Linked DNA regions of Homo sapiens: regions 1 and 2 are each linked to region 3. Evidence: promoter capture Hi-C in human tissues and cell types (Jung and others, 2019). All regions are on one chromosome and are shown on one strand. The core of a region is centred on a gene start or on the middle of the fragment in contact, and the rest is flanking DNA. Distances in the headings are between cores, read along the strand shown. Region 1 overlaps SLC41A2 (solute carrier family 41 member 2). Region 2 overlaps SLC41A2 (solute carrier family 41 member 2). Region 3 holds the start of EID3 (EP300 interacting inhibitor of differentiation 3).

What was found. The method cuts DNA at HindIII sites, captures the fragments that hold promoters and counts their contacts. A contact is called where the count stands out against the background at its distance.
Region 1: a fragment that was not itself captured here is called in contact with the fragment with the promoter of EID3 in region 3 in 1 of the 25 tissues and cell types used here (heart right ventricle).
Region 2: a contact is called between a fragment that was not itself captured here and the fragment with the promoter of EID3 in region 3, in 1 of the 25 tissues and cell types used here (dorsolateral prefrontal cortex).

Annotation. Positions count from the first base shown.
Region 1 is chr12:104,882,850-104,887,565 of GRCh38, reverse strand. SLC41A2 (solute carrier family 41 member 2) reads left to right here. Exons shown (of 11, transcript NM_001352171.3): 6 at 1,127-1,273. Among named protein-coding and RNA genes, the nearest start is that of SLC41A2, 73 kb to the left of the region's middle. RefSeq lists an enhancer at 2,786-2,955. The HindIII fragment of the contact is 4,056 bases long and covers 660-4,715 here.
Region 2 is chr12:104,925,562-104,930,188 of GRCh38, reverse strand. It overlaps SLC41A2 (solute carrier family 41 member 2), which reads left to right. Exons shown (of 11, transcript NM_001352171.3): 2 at 1,495-2,216. The coding sequence starts at 1,662. Among named protein-coding and RNA genes, the nearest start is that of SLC41A2, 30 kb to the left of the region's middle. RefSeq lists an enhancer at 564-858 and a silencer at 564-858. The HindIII fragment of the contact is 4,880 bases long and covers 1-3,831 here.
Region 3 is chr12:104,302,062-104,306,805 of GRCh38, reverse strand. EID3 (EP300 interacting inhibitor of differentiation 3) reads right to left here and starts at 3,067. Exons shown (of 1, transcript NM_001008394.3): 1 at 1,601-3,067. The coding sequence starts at 2,871. The coding sequence ends at 1,870. The region is part of intron 4 of TXNRD1 (thioredoxin reductase 1); the gene reads right to left. RefSeq lists enhancers at 2,630-2,689, 2,720-2,959, 2,267-3,139 and a silencer at 3,000-3,229. The HindIII fragment of the contact is 3,401 bases long and covers 1,685-4,744 here.

The sequences.
Region 1 (4,716 bases), core at 1,438-3,937, 580 kb before region 3:
TTCTGCTATAGCTTTTTTTCTTTTTCAATGATATTATGGGAAAGGTAAGTCTAGTAATTTAAAAAGCCTCCAGAATACTAAAATATAAGGCACTGTTTGATGCAAGACAAAAATTCTGCTTATTAAAATTTTGGCTTTAATAGGTAGAGTAAAAAACACTGGGCTAGAGTCACAAGCTATGTGACTTTAGGCAAGAATTTAAGCCCTACTCTACAGGACCTCAGTTTTATTATCTATAAAGTGAGTATGCTGGAACAAAAACATTTAGAGTCATTTTAACTCTAAAAGTGCTGTGAGATTCTGTTACTGTTTTTCTCCATAGCCATATTTAGGCTTTCATATTGATTTGTGGTTAGCACATTTAAAGTTTTCTCTTTACTACATCCTCTTAATGAGTATCTTGGTGTGACAAAATCTACACAATTTAGAGTGGATATAAATGTTAATAGTTTTATCCCATTTGTATAATTTAAGAAAATTAGGATGTAAAAGTACAAGTACACAGTTAAATTTTCATCTTCTATTCTCTCGTAGGTTTATAGACAGAAACTTCAGGTTTAAAGAATATCTTTTACAAAGACTGTTTCTTGTATTCTGGCCTTCAGTGTTTTAAAATTTAATTATGTCCTGCTGCTTAATACTTCAACGTCTTTAAGTAATAAAATGAAATAAGCATTTCTAGCTGCCATATGTAAACAAATCTGGTTTTGTTGGCCTTCTTCCCAGTTGTTGTACATATACATATGACTCACCTTTTTTTTTGATGTTTTCATACTTTATTTGAGGGTTAAAATTAAAACCTTTGGATTCAATACACACAAATACATTATATCTAAGATATACATGTCACTAAATCTGAAATTTTAGCTTTACCATAATTTTAGTAGCTTTCAGGCCTCTAAATACAATGCTGAACTTCTTAAATTTTCTATGATCCCCACTTGGAGTTTGTTGAAAGGCATTTTGCCAAAGCGTTAGAGTAAATGTTTTGTTTGCTTTAGTCAGCTTATCTAAGCAGTCTAACTGGAATTGATATGCTGTTTTTCTATCCTACACATTTTGGTATTTGGGGGATTGATTTTCTTTAAATCATAGCCTAAAAAGTAATGAACATTCTTTCTTCTAGGAATAATAATGGTTGGGGTTATCGTTGGTTCAAAGAAGACTGGTATAAATCCTGATAATGTTGCTACACCCATTGCTGCTAGTTTTGGCGACCTTATAACTCTTGCCATATTGGCTTGGATAAGTCAGGGCTTATACTCCTGTCTTGGTAAGTTGATTTAAAACTAAATATTGTGTGTTGTCTCAAGTCTCTTTAAATAAATATTGTTGCAGCAATGCCATGAATCCATGGTAGCCTTCATTTGCATTAGAACTGCTGTTGAGACTGATTAGGATAACTATCATTTGTTTTATACCTACTATGTGTTATGATTCCCACTTTCTTTTTTCTCGTAGAGTTTAAAACTCTGTAAAATAAGGATTATCATCTCTAATTTTAGATGAGAAAAGCAAGGATCATAGAAGTTATGTATGTTACCCAAGTTTATATAACTACTAGTAAAAAAGTTGAACACAGGCTTATCATATTTTGTGATTTCTGTCCTTTCCTGTAAGTGTACAGCAGCTAGGAGTCAACCTGCAGTGTTCTCTGTATAGAACCATCTCAGAATATAAGCTTATAAGTGGTACTTAAAATTTACCAATGGAATGTTTTTCCCCATCAGAAACCCACACCAATAAGTAGCTTCATGGCAGTTAACAAAAGGGAAAAAAAAATCACCACAAAAATTAGACTGAATGCTGTATAAAGTTGGAGCCATATATGTAATTCCTGATAAATAGTGATAGAGTATTTATGGAATCTAATGAGTTGTTTTAATGCAAATTTGTGTTCTGGAAATGGTAAATACATATGATTTGTGAGTGTTGATGACATGCTAAAAGTTCATTGTGGTTTTATTATTTTTAGATGCCAAATTAAGGAAAACAGAAACTTACAGTAATACAAGAAAAAAACATGAGTATATAAGCCAAGCCAGAGGCAAACATTTATTCACAAATCCTCACATATGTTCATGGATTCTATACAGATTTATGGTGTACTTTAAAATAAATCTAAAGCATGTTTCGTTTTAAGAAGTAAGGGTCTCAGATATATGTTCTTGAAATAAAGAAAGGGCTTTAACCAACCAAAGGCAATAATTTTCTGTGACTTTTGGAGACATCAAGGAAGCTTCACTTAGCATATAAAATTGCCTTAAGTTATTTAGTGAGTGGCATAAAAACAATATTTAATAAGACTTGGTGTGTATGTTCAAGGAATATTTCTCTCATTTAGAAGATAAGGTTGCATCCACTTTAAGTGAGGTATAAGACAAGAAATGATCAATGGCCTAAATGTAAGCTCTTGTTCCCAAAGGTCTTGGCTTTTTTATGTTGTTGTGCAATTTGCAAAGAATGATACATGTTTAAGTATATTAAGGACAACACTTAATTCCCTTCCCTCCCACTCAAAAAAAAAAGCACAGGAAGTGGGTTATGTTATTAAAGGGATAATCTTAAATTTGCTCTAATTTGTATTGTTTGGATGATAAATTGATAATACTTTAATTTAGAAATAGATGCTGAAGTCAGGGATTAAAATATTAGCTTATGGCTAGCATTAGAAAATGTGGCTTAATATTCTTGTCCTACTCTATTAAACTCACCCACACACTCTCAGCCAGACAGTTGGATAACTTGTAGTCCTGACCCCATAGAATAAGCTGTTAACTGTATTGGTGAAGAGAGACTGTCACTAATAGGCTGTATCTCAAAAGAGAAAGCCAGTAACGGCATGAGTTAGGCATGAGTTAGTGCCCCTTTCCCTAGTATTACTAATTAGATAAGTCTCTCCCAATTGGAGGAGGAGGAAAGAGAGAAGAAAAGAGGGGTAGAAGAGGATAAAGGGTTATGTCTCAATATCATTAAAAGGACAGAAATTCTATGGGTTTGCCCAGGAACATAGAGGGTGGGGGTAGGGATGGAGGGCTGGTAGTGGTTCTGGGACAGGTTACCCTATATACATAAAAAATACAGGTATACAGTTCCAAGATGGCCAAATATGAATAGCTCCAGTCTACAGCTCTCAGTGAGCGACGCAGAAGATGGGTGATTTCTGCATTTCCAACTGAGGTACTGGGTTCGTCTCATTGGGACTAGTTGGACTGTGGGTGCAGCCCACAGTGTGTGAGCCGAAGCAGGGTGGGGCACTGCCTCACCAGGGAAGCGCAAGGGGTCAGGGAATTACCTTTCCTAGCCAAGGGAAGCTGTGACAGATGGTACCTGGAAAATTGGGACACTCCTGCCCTAATACTGCACTTTTCCAAGAGTCTTAGCAAACAGCACACCAGGAGATTATATCCCACACTTGGCTTGGTGGGTCCCACACCCATGGAGCCTTGCTCACTGCTAGCACAGCAGTCTGAGATGGAACTGCGAGGTGGCAGCGAGGCTGGGGGAGGGGCGTCCGCCATTGCTGAGGCTTGACTAGGTAAACAAAGCGGCTGGGAAGCTCAAACTGGGTGGAGCCCACCACAGCTCAATGAGGCCTGCCTGCCTCTGTAGACTCCACCTCTGGAAGCAGGACATAGCTGAATAAAAGGCAGCAGAAACTTCTGCGGACTTAAACGTCCCTGTCTGACAGCTTTGAAGAGAGTAGTGGTTCTCCCAGCACGGAGTTTGAGATCTGAGAACGGACAGACTGCCTCCTCAAGTGGGTCCCTGACCCCCAAGTAGCCTAACTGGGAGACATCTCCCAGTAGGGGCCAACTGACACCTCATACAGCCGGGTGTCCCTCTGAGATGAAACTTCCAGAGGAAGGATCAGGCAGCAACATTTGCTGTTGTGCAATATTTGCTGCTCTGCAGCCTCCGCTGGTGATACCCAGGAAAACAGGGTCTGGAGTGGACCTCCAGCAAACTCCAACAGACCTGCAGCTGAGGGTCCTGACTGTTAGAAGGAAAACTAACAAACAGAAATGAATAGCATCAACAGCAACAAAAAGGACATCCACATCAAAACCCCATCTGTAGGTCACCATCATCAAAGACCAAAGGTAGATAAAACCACAAAGATGGGGAGAAACCAGAGCAGAAAAGCTGAAAATTCTAAAAACCGAACGCCTCTTCTCCTCCAAAGATTCACAGCTCCTCAGCAATGGAACAAAACTGGATGGAGAATGACTTTGACGAGTTGACTAAAGTAGGCTTCAGAAGATTGGTAATAACAGACTTCTCCAAAGTACAGGAGGATGTTCAAACCCATTGCAAGGAAGCTAAAAACCTTGAAAAAAGACTAGATGAATGGCTAACTAGAATAAACAGTGTAGAGAAGACCTTAAATGACCCAATGGAGCCGAAAACCATGGCATGAGAACTACATGATGCATGCACAAGCTTCAGTAGCCGATTTGATCAAGTGGAAGAAAGGGTATCAGTGATTGAAGATCAAATGAATGAAATGAAGCAAGAAGAGAAGTTTAGAGAAAAAAGAGTAAAAAGAAATGAACAAAGCCTCCAAGAAATATGGGACTATGTGAAAAGACCAAATCTACATTTGATTGGTATACCTGAAAGTGATGAGGAGAATGGAACCAAGTTGGAAAACACTCTTCAGGATATTATCCAGGAGAACTTCCCCAACCTAGCAAGACAGGCCAACATTCAAAT
Region 2 (4,627 bases), core at 142-2,641, 630 kb before region 3:
CTGCACCATAATCATCACATGGAAAAGTTAAAAATAAAAAAGATTTATGGGCCTCAAACACACACATTCTGAGTCAGTAGGTCTGGTGTCCTGGAATCTGTATTTTAAAAATGTTCCTCAGAAGGAATTCCCAGATCCCAGACCCCTCTGTAATCACAAGAGAGAGGAAAGGAAAGTGAGTGAGTGATGGAATTGATGAACCAGGCCCTAACACCCACTTACGTCCTACATAGCCCCTTCTCTTTCTCCCTTTGCCATTCCTTGCTATTGATCTTCCTATCCAGAGAGGAGATGGATATTCTAAGACATTGGAAACAAATACTGAGGAATATAGTAGTTTTCATTAAAAGCAGCAATAGTAGCAGCAACAATTCTCAGTCTAGCTTGGCAGGAACGCAGTCCAGTTAGGTTTTGGGGCCACCCATCCCTTATCAAATCAGTGCCATTTTTTTGGTCTTAGATGCTCTTGGAAGTATAAGACAGGCCTAGGTGTTTCTGAGAAACACCTGATAGCTTGGAAAGCCTTGCCAGCTATGGCAGCAATTGTCAGGTTTTCTTCCTGGTCAGGTCGTGGGTGACCTTGCAGCTTCAGTGCCCATCACTCTTTGATGTGCCACAGTTATGTGTTTGTGTCTCTTAGTTCAAAGTCTTCAAAGAGACTCTAGTCACTGAGTGGCCAGCCAGTCAGGGTTCTACCCTGGGATTATGGGCCAGAGCAGACTGAGAACTATGAATGGACAGGGCAGGGCATAAATAAGTGCGTTACAAGCTTTCTTCTGGCTGGTTTGCAAATGGAGGTTTAAGTGAATATTTGTAATTTCTTTTTAGTTTTGTTATTCCTAAATGAAAGAAGGTTTATATTCCTAAATCAATTATAATGAGCTTTTATATCTCAGAACTACAAATATGACTCCAGCCTCATTTTATTTGTGAAATAAATGCCCTATATAGTATTCAGGATACCTACCAAGTGTTTTTATAGTAAACATCATCCTTGTCTCTTCATATCTTAATAATAAAATGTATATTATATTAAGTTGTAAATAAAGTAATATGGTTTATTATTTAATGTTTAAAGTATAATGCCATATATCTTTTGTTGTGTACTGACAGATGCAAAGGGTATAGCAATTTGATTCTGAGTCCTTGCAATAGTAATAAAAGCCATTACTTTATTTAAAACATTTGTCCACTGTGGGATTTCAAGAGGCAGTTGAAGACCTTACGTGGATATTGATCACATAAAGTATGCAAAGATAAGAAATACTTTTAACCAAGATTGAGCACAAAAATAGCTCTGTATTATATTTCTGTACACAAAGCAGTTGTGTGGCACAAAACAGTTATGTTTTAAGCCCACAAAGTATAGTATCAGTACCGTAGGGTTGGTTTAAGAACATGTGTTTTTAATACCTTTATAAGAATTGAAGTATCTATCTTGATACTGAAACTATCTTGTTTCTCTGATTTTTAAAAATTATTTTATTTTTCCAGATCCAGTCCTTCTGTGGAACTTCTGAACATCTTTTATTAGTGGAAATATTTTCTACACAATGAAGTCAACAACTTAATTTAAACCAGTGTTTGTGCGGTTCTGATTCATCTGCTGTGGTTCCCGAAGCTTGAGATCTAAGGAGTACAGGGTCTTTTGTGATGACAATATGACTAATAGTAAAGGAAGATCTATTACCGATAAAACAAGTGGTGGTCCAAGTAGTGGAGGAGGTTTTGTAGATTGGACTTTACGTTTAAACACAATTCAATCCGACAAGTTTTTAAATTTACTCTTGAGTATGGTTCCAGTGATTTACCAGAAAAACCAAGAAGACAGGCACAAAAAAGCAAACGGCATTTGGCAAGATGGATTATCAACTGCAGTACAGACTTTTAGTAATAGATCTGAGCAACACATGGAGTATCACAGTTTCTCAGAGCAGTCTTTTCATGCCAATAATGGGCACGCATCATCAAGCTGCAGCCAAAAGTATGATGACTATGCCAATTATAATTACTGTGATGGAAGGGAGACTTCAGAAACCACTGCCATGTTACAAGATGAAGATATATCTAGTGATGGTGATGAAGATGCTATTGTAGAAGTGACCCCAAAATTACCAAAGGAATCCAGTGGCATCATGGCATTGCAAATACTTGTGCCCTTTTTGCTAGCTGGTTTTGGAACAGTTTCAGCTGGCATGGTACTGGATATAGTACAGGTGGGTTTTCATCTTTATTTAACTTTACTGTCTTTTTTTGTTATTCCATTTCTGTTTAAAATGCTTTATGTAGGTTACTACTCTCAAACATTCACTTTAGATTTAATTTATCCCTTGGTAAAATGAACAGATGCTGACTCTGGGAGAGAATCTATTTCTAGGTGGGAGTTTTTCTTTTTTCCCCTTTAGAAATTCTGAAAGAATAGTTATTCTGACTGTAAAGTAACTCTTCTCTACAGACCTTGGAAGAGCTTGGTTAAAAGAAAATCTTCCCAAAATGTTATATTTAAATACTTTCTTACTTTTAAAATAAAAATTAATATATACTCATTAAAATGACTTCAAACATTAGAGGGTATTAAATAAAACATGAAGTTTCTCCTATTCCTTATCTCCGAATCAAAACTCTCCTCCTCTCCAGAGATTATCATTGTGAAGTGTTCGTTGTATACACTTGCAGCCTCTTTTCTATGCTTACATATATACATATGAGAGTTTTTCCAAAAATAAAAATAAAATGTTGCATATATTTTTCTGCAACTTATTTTCATTGCTTAATAATACATCTCTCCAAATTGGTATACAAAGATTTTCTGCATTTTAAACTGAGTGCATGATATTCCATTGTATGTATATACCAAAATTTACTTACTCATTCTTCCTTATTGGTGCTGTAATAACTATCCTTATAAGAATATATATTCATATAGTAATGTTTTCATAGGATAGATTTAAAAACAGCATTGTTGGATATTAGGGTATGAATTAATATCTATGTTTAAAATTTTGTAGATACTGTCAAGTCGCATTCCAAAAAATTTGTATCAATTTATACTCCTACTGTCAAAATAGAAGTACTTTTATTTTTTCATGTCCCTATCAACATTGGGTATTTATTTTATTTTATTTTATTTTGAGACAGGGTCTCGCTCTGTGGCCTAGGTCACTACACCCTCAACCTCCTGGGCTCAAGTAACCCTCCCACCTCAGCCTCTTGAGTGGCTGGTACTACAGGCGCACTACACCTCACTAATTAAAAAAAATTTTTTTTTAGAGACAAGGTCTTGCTGTGTTGCCCAGGCGGGTCTCAAACTCCTGGGCTCAAGCAATCCTCCCACCTTGGCCTTTCCAAAGTGCTAGGGATTGCAGGTGTGTACCACTGTGCCCAGCCAACACTGGGTCTTCTTGATCTTTTTCATATTTGCCAAATGGCAGGAAAATGTTATCATGTTTTAATTAACATTATTATTAATGTTTAGCATATTGTCATGTGTTTATTGGCCATTCTTTTTCTGTGAATTATTTTTTGTATCTTTTATTTATTTTTAAAATTTATGTGCTACTTATTGATTTGTAGGTATTCTCTTTTTTTTTTTATTTTTTTTAAGGCGCAGTCTAGCTTTGTCACCCAGGCTGGAGTGCAGTGGCGTGATCTTGGCTCACTGCAATCTCCACCTCCCAAGTTCAAGTGATTCTCCTGCCTCAGCCTCCTGAGTAGCTGGGACCACAGGCTCACGCTACCATGCCTGGCTAATTTTTGTATTTTTAGTAGAGATGTTGGTTAGGCTGGTCTCAATCTCCTGACCTCAAGTGATCCGCCTGCCTCTGCCTCCCAAAGTGCTGGGATTACAGGCATGACCCACCATGTCTAGCCGATTTGTAGGTGTTCTTAATGCCTTGTGGTTACCAAATACCTATTATATAATTATCTTTCTAAAGTAATAAGTTGCCAAAATGTGACATTTTGTTCTGTCAGTTTTTGTTTATCAGTCATAGAAAGGTTGCCTCTGGGAAACTATTAGATATATTATCTTATAATGTGCTCTTATCTTTCATTGTTTGTTCCCTAAAGGAACCTCAGGTTATTTGTGACTCTAAGATGCTATTCAAGAGGTAACATTTTTATCTAAATGGAAAATATACATAAATAGAAACATTTTTCCACCATCAGTTGGAGAAAGGATATGAGAGGAACTATATTGCAGTACATTAAAGTTTTAAATAGATAATAATACCAAAGAGAGAGCAAACCTACATCCACTTGAAATATAATTGTTTTAGGTTCTTATAGTAGTATCACAGCTGCGACAATAAATAGGCTGGTTTTGGTTTGGATTTTTTCTTGAGATACCAATTATTCTGAAGAAACACTCAGTATTTAACTATAGAATGGTAACATCTATAGGACTAAGGTGTTAGAGTACAGCTTAGCAGAATGTTTATATAGCTCATTATGTATCTGGAGTAATGTTGACTTACTTCCTGATACTGAGAGAACAGCACGCATATAATTGGAAAAAGTTCCTTTTATGATTTTATGAACTTTTACAGTGCTAGCCCTAAGGACTTTATAATGTTAAACTTTAGTGTTAAACATTGTAGAAACGTAATATAAATTTTTTTTTTTCTTT
Region 3 (4,744 bases), core at 1,818-4,317:
GAAATGAGGATGAGTGAGATCAAATGGTGCTTCCATGACTGCTACTATAAATCAAAGGATACTAGACACTAGCAAGGGTCAGCGCTCTTTCATATGTGAAAGGAGTAACTAATTTAGAAAATAATTTGCCAAGTTTCATGAGAAAGTTCTATTTTTGCTAAAACCTCTACTCTATTATTGGTGAAGAACCTCATCTCCATACATGAAAAATCCTTCCTCTCAGTCTTGGTGTCATTTGTTGAGTCTTTGGATTTCCCTTTCCTGTACCACTAGACTTACTAGGAAAGTTTGCCACTGCTATGCATAACAGATACCTAAACATTTGCCAAAGTATTGTTTAATGGCAAAATTCCACGACTACCAAAAATTAAGCTCCTATAGGGATCAAGGGGAAGAAAGCTTATGGGTATGCTTACTGCACCTTCTCAAGTTACTTTCTTAATGACCCAAACTTTTGGCAATAATCTCCAAATAAGGTTGTAATTTATGCAACGGAAAGAAAAAAGCCTTTATGGCTTTACACTAAGTGAAGAACATCCAGATAAACTAACATGTTTTAGTTTCAGCAAGGTCAGTTTCCTGGCATTTAAAGCCCTATTAAGAAATGCAAAATTTGGCTCACACTTGTAATCCCAGCATTTCCGGAGGCCGAGGCGGGTGGATCACTTGGGGCCAGGTGTTCGAGACCAGCCTGGCTACCATGGCGAAACTCTGTTCCTACTAAAAATACAAGTATTTGCTGGGTGTGATGGCACACACCTGTAATCCCGGCTACTTGGGAGGCTGAGGCACAAGAATCGCCTGAACCCCGCAGGCAGAGGTTGCAGTGGGCCGAGATTGCACCACTGCACCCCAGCCTGGGCAAGAGTGATACTCTGTCTCGAGGGGGAAAAAAAAAGATAGAAATGCAAAATTAAAGTGGGACAAATATTCAAAGTTGTTACATGATGAAAAAGCGTAGATTGTGAAGGACATTCTATGTACTAGCAAAGACCACAAAGGGACACTAGGGGCCAGAGAAGAAATTCAGTAGATAAAAACTACAACTGGATAGCAAGATCTTGTGTTCAATGTATAATAGTTTGACAAAAACATCTTCTCAGGATATTAATAGATGAAGTTATTCAATTGTTGCCCAGCTTATCAAATATAATAGTTTTTCCATAAATCTAATGGTCCTCTCGTGCCTAACTTCTAACAATTCCATGCATTTGACCTTGCTATTCTCTTGCCTAGAATGCCTTTTCCTTCTTCGTGTTTCTACTCACCTTTCACCCTTAGCTGATACCTCAACTACTACAGCAGAGACACTACTTTTGCTGAGTACAATAACAGAAATTGTTTAGAATATGGATACTCACTCATAAATCCTAAGTCTTCCTTGCAATGACTTTTTTAGTCTTAATGTTGCATATTCACTGCCTTACAGACAGGTTTTTTTTTTTAACTTTTGTTTTTTACCCACTCTTTGCCCAACCTGGTTAGGAACCCTTTCTGGGATTCTCTTGGTTCCCTATGACAGAGAAAGCAACGCATCACAGAGCATCATCACTGATTTTCGTAAATTATTATGTTTTGCAAATTATCAAATATCCCTTAATTTGGTATCCAAAACTTGTTTTTATTAATAGTCTTAAAGGGCATTCAATAAAACGTTCCCATAAATATGCCAGTGAATTTGTTTTAATAACAGAAGATCATGACCTTATAAATTACTAAGAAAAATATGCTGCACAGTAAAACAATGTCTGATGTTCTTGAAAATACTTTTTCACTTTACAAGAGATACAATATGTGCTTCAGTTTACATTTTACTCTCCATCTAACTTCAGAAAAAAAACACAAAAAGGATGCTATACTAAGAAATCTTTAGTATGAGGAGTATGTAATCATAGCCTCAGAAATTTCAAAAGCTGCCACAATGTTTTTCCACTCCTGTAAAGTCAAAGATATAACTCCCTGTTTCCTGCCATGGCAACTGGAATCATTTCCCTCACCCATTTGGTTAACATTCATCGGCTCTAATATTGGCAGCCTGTCTTCATCAAGCCTTATTCTTGCAAAACCATCTCTTACAATAAAAGAAACATAAAATATATTCTCCACAGTACGAGAAAAAGAGTTTGGATCAATCACAAACTCAAAATAGGACACAGGAGTATCAGGATACTTTCGAAAGTAGGTTTGCAACAATCCCAAAATCCTTTCTACGTTTTTTTCTGTCGCTTCTGGATAACTACTCAGGTCCAACTTCTGCAACTTTGTAGGCATGTTGCCATTTTCTTCCATCTTGCGAACTTTTTTCTGGTGTTCAAGTCGGGGCTTTGGTGCAGAACGTTCTAGCTTGAATGAACCAAAAACAAAATGGAATGTCTCAGCTTTTACCATCCAGGATGTTGCTTCCTTTTCTATTGCCTTCCAGAAGGAAAGAGCTATGCTATCATCACAATCACTCAACTTGTCAGGATCGCCTTCCATCCAATTCAGACCCACGAACAGAAACAGAAAGTCACAAAATGCTAACTGATTAAAGAAGTTCATATCTGAGTTTAACTGCTTTGCCTTTTCTTTACCCAAATCAGAAGCCATAACAAGAAACCGGGCGTCGAGGGCTGCTTCTCTGGTTCGGCTCACGCCATCAAAGAGGACGTTGGCTTCCTCCAGAGCCTCGGTTAAGGAGTTGTTCGCCGAGCTCACGATGTCCTCCCGGTTCTGCCGCACGCAGTACATGAGCTGCCGGTACTGCCTGCGGATGCTGCGGCACTTCTCCTCGTCAGCGGTGAGCTCCAGGAGCTTTGGGTCTACGTCGGCCTCCCCAGAGCTGAGGTCGTCGGAGCAGCCCGCGGCCCTCACTGACACATCCATCTTCATCAGCGCTCCCTCCGCCGCCGCCTACTTCGCCGCGTACTCGCTACCGGGGATGATCACGAGCTGCTCCTCTCCTTTCTCTTCGTCTCCCTTCCGGGAAGCTTTTTCAACCAACATGCCGGCCACGGGTATCTCTGAGGTAACGGCCCTCCCAGCGTGTGGAAAGTGGCGGCAGTTAGAGCCGAGGACGCCCGCCCATGCGCACTAGCGGCCCGGCCCGGCGCGACCCGCCCCCAGCACGCTCCGCGGGAAGACAGCCCCGCCCCGGCCCGGCCCAGCCACAAGCCGAGGCGCTCGCTCATAGACCAGCGCGGCGCTCCCAACACGCGCAATGATGGGCCCTGACCTCACACGCGACTAATGCCCGCTCAGGGGACAGCTATTCTTTTTCAAAGCGTTTACCGACTGGATCACCTCACTTTAAAAAAAAACACTTTTGGACAACTTTACACAAAACTATTGAGGAGACTAAAGGTCCTGCGCTTTAAAACGCTCGCTGCCATCATATACTGCAGTGAGGTCGACCTGGTTTTGGTTTTTTGTGAACTAAATCTGGCTGGACTGTAAACCGTCGGTAAGGCCAAGGACCGTGAAAAGCAGAAACTCCATTAAGCAGGCTAAACTCTCAGTTCTTTTGCAAGGTGGTGTTTGGACTCATTATACAAATGTAAATCGGGTTAATTACTTTCACATGTCCTCTTAAAAACCAAGCCCCCTCCAATACCCATCCTGAGTATCTGTGGGATCGGGGGAGCCTCCAATATCCGTGCTAACCCCTGCAGGAAACTGGGTGCTGGGCACGGGCATTACTCAGGTGAACTTTGGTTCTCCACTACCCAGGAGTGGAAGAATAGAATGGGTAGAGATCTCTGCAAAAGAGCTATTTACTTGGAAGCTTGCCAACAGCTAAAGGCCACCGACACTGAATGGGTAGTAACTCTGAACCCTAAAAGGTGGGCAAAGCTATGAAAATTTCAGATACAGTCTAAGGATATGAAAGCTTAATCTGTAAACTGGGTGAGTAATCTGCGTGGGAAAATTTACCCATTGGATTTAATGGGGTCACTGGAAACTCAAGTGCAGTTAAAGACGTGACTCCTTATCTGTCTCACCAGCAGCAAATAGCAAAGTATACATAACAATGGGAATGGCCGGGCGCGGTGGCTCACGCCTGCAATCCCAGCACTTTGGGAGGCCGAGGCGGGCGGATCACGAGGTCAGGAGATCGAGACCATCTTGGCTAACCCGGTGAAACCCCGTCTCTACTAAAACTACAAAAAATTAGCCGGGCGCGGTGGCAGGCGCCTATAGTCCCAGCTACTCGGTAGGCTGAGGCAGAAGAATGGCGTGAACCCAGGAGGCGGAGTTTGCAGTGAGCCGAGATCGGGCCACTGCACTCCAGCCTGGGCTATAGAGCGAGACTCCGTCTCAAAAAAAAAAAAAAAAAAAAAGGGAATGAATACATCTGGTTTTTAAAGAGAACATGCACACAAACAACCCATGAGCATCAACAGCTTTTCAAACCTGCAACAGGTACACCTTAAAAAAAAAAAGACACCCACAATTGCACCTGTCCAATTGCCAGTTTCATAGCACCAGGAAGTAAATTAGCCCTACCTTCCTTTATGCATATAGACTTGTTCTATTTCTTTAGCATTAGCAGAAAGTTTTTTGTAAATGTATAAACAGCAAAATCTAGTAGTATTAAGTTACTCCAAAATCCTTATATTACCATTTGCTCCCAATTATTTTATTAACTAGGGGTAATTCAGGGAGATACGTGCATTTTTCAAAACACCATGCATTACGGTTAGTTGTACATATATATGATCCTACCCTATTAGATTGTTGGCTTCTCAAAAACAAAAGCTGCGTT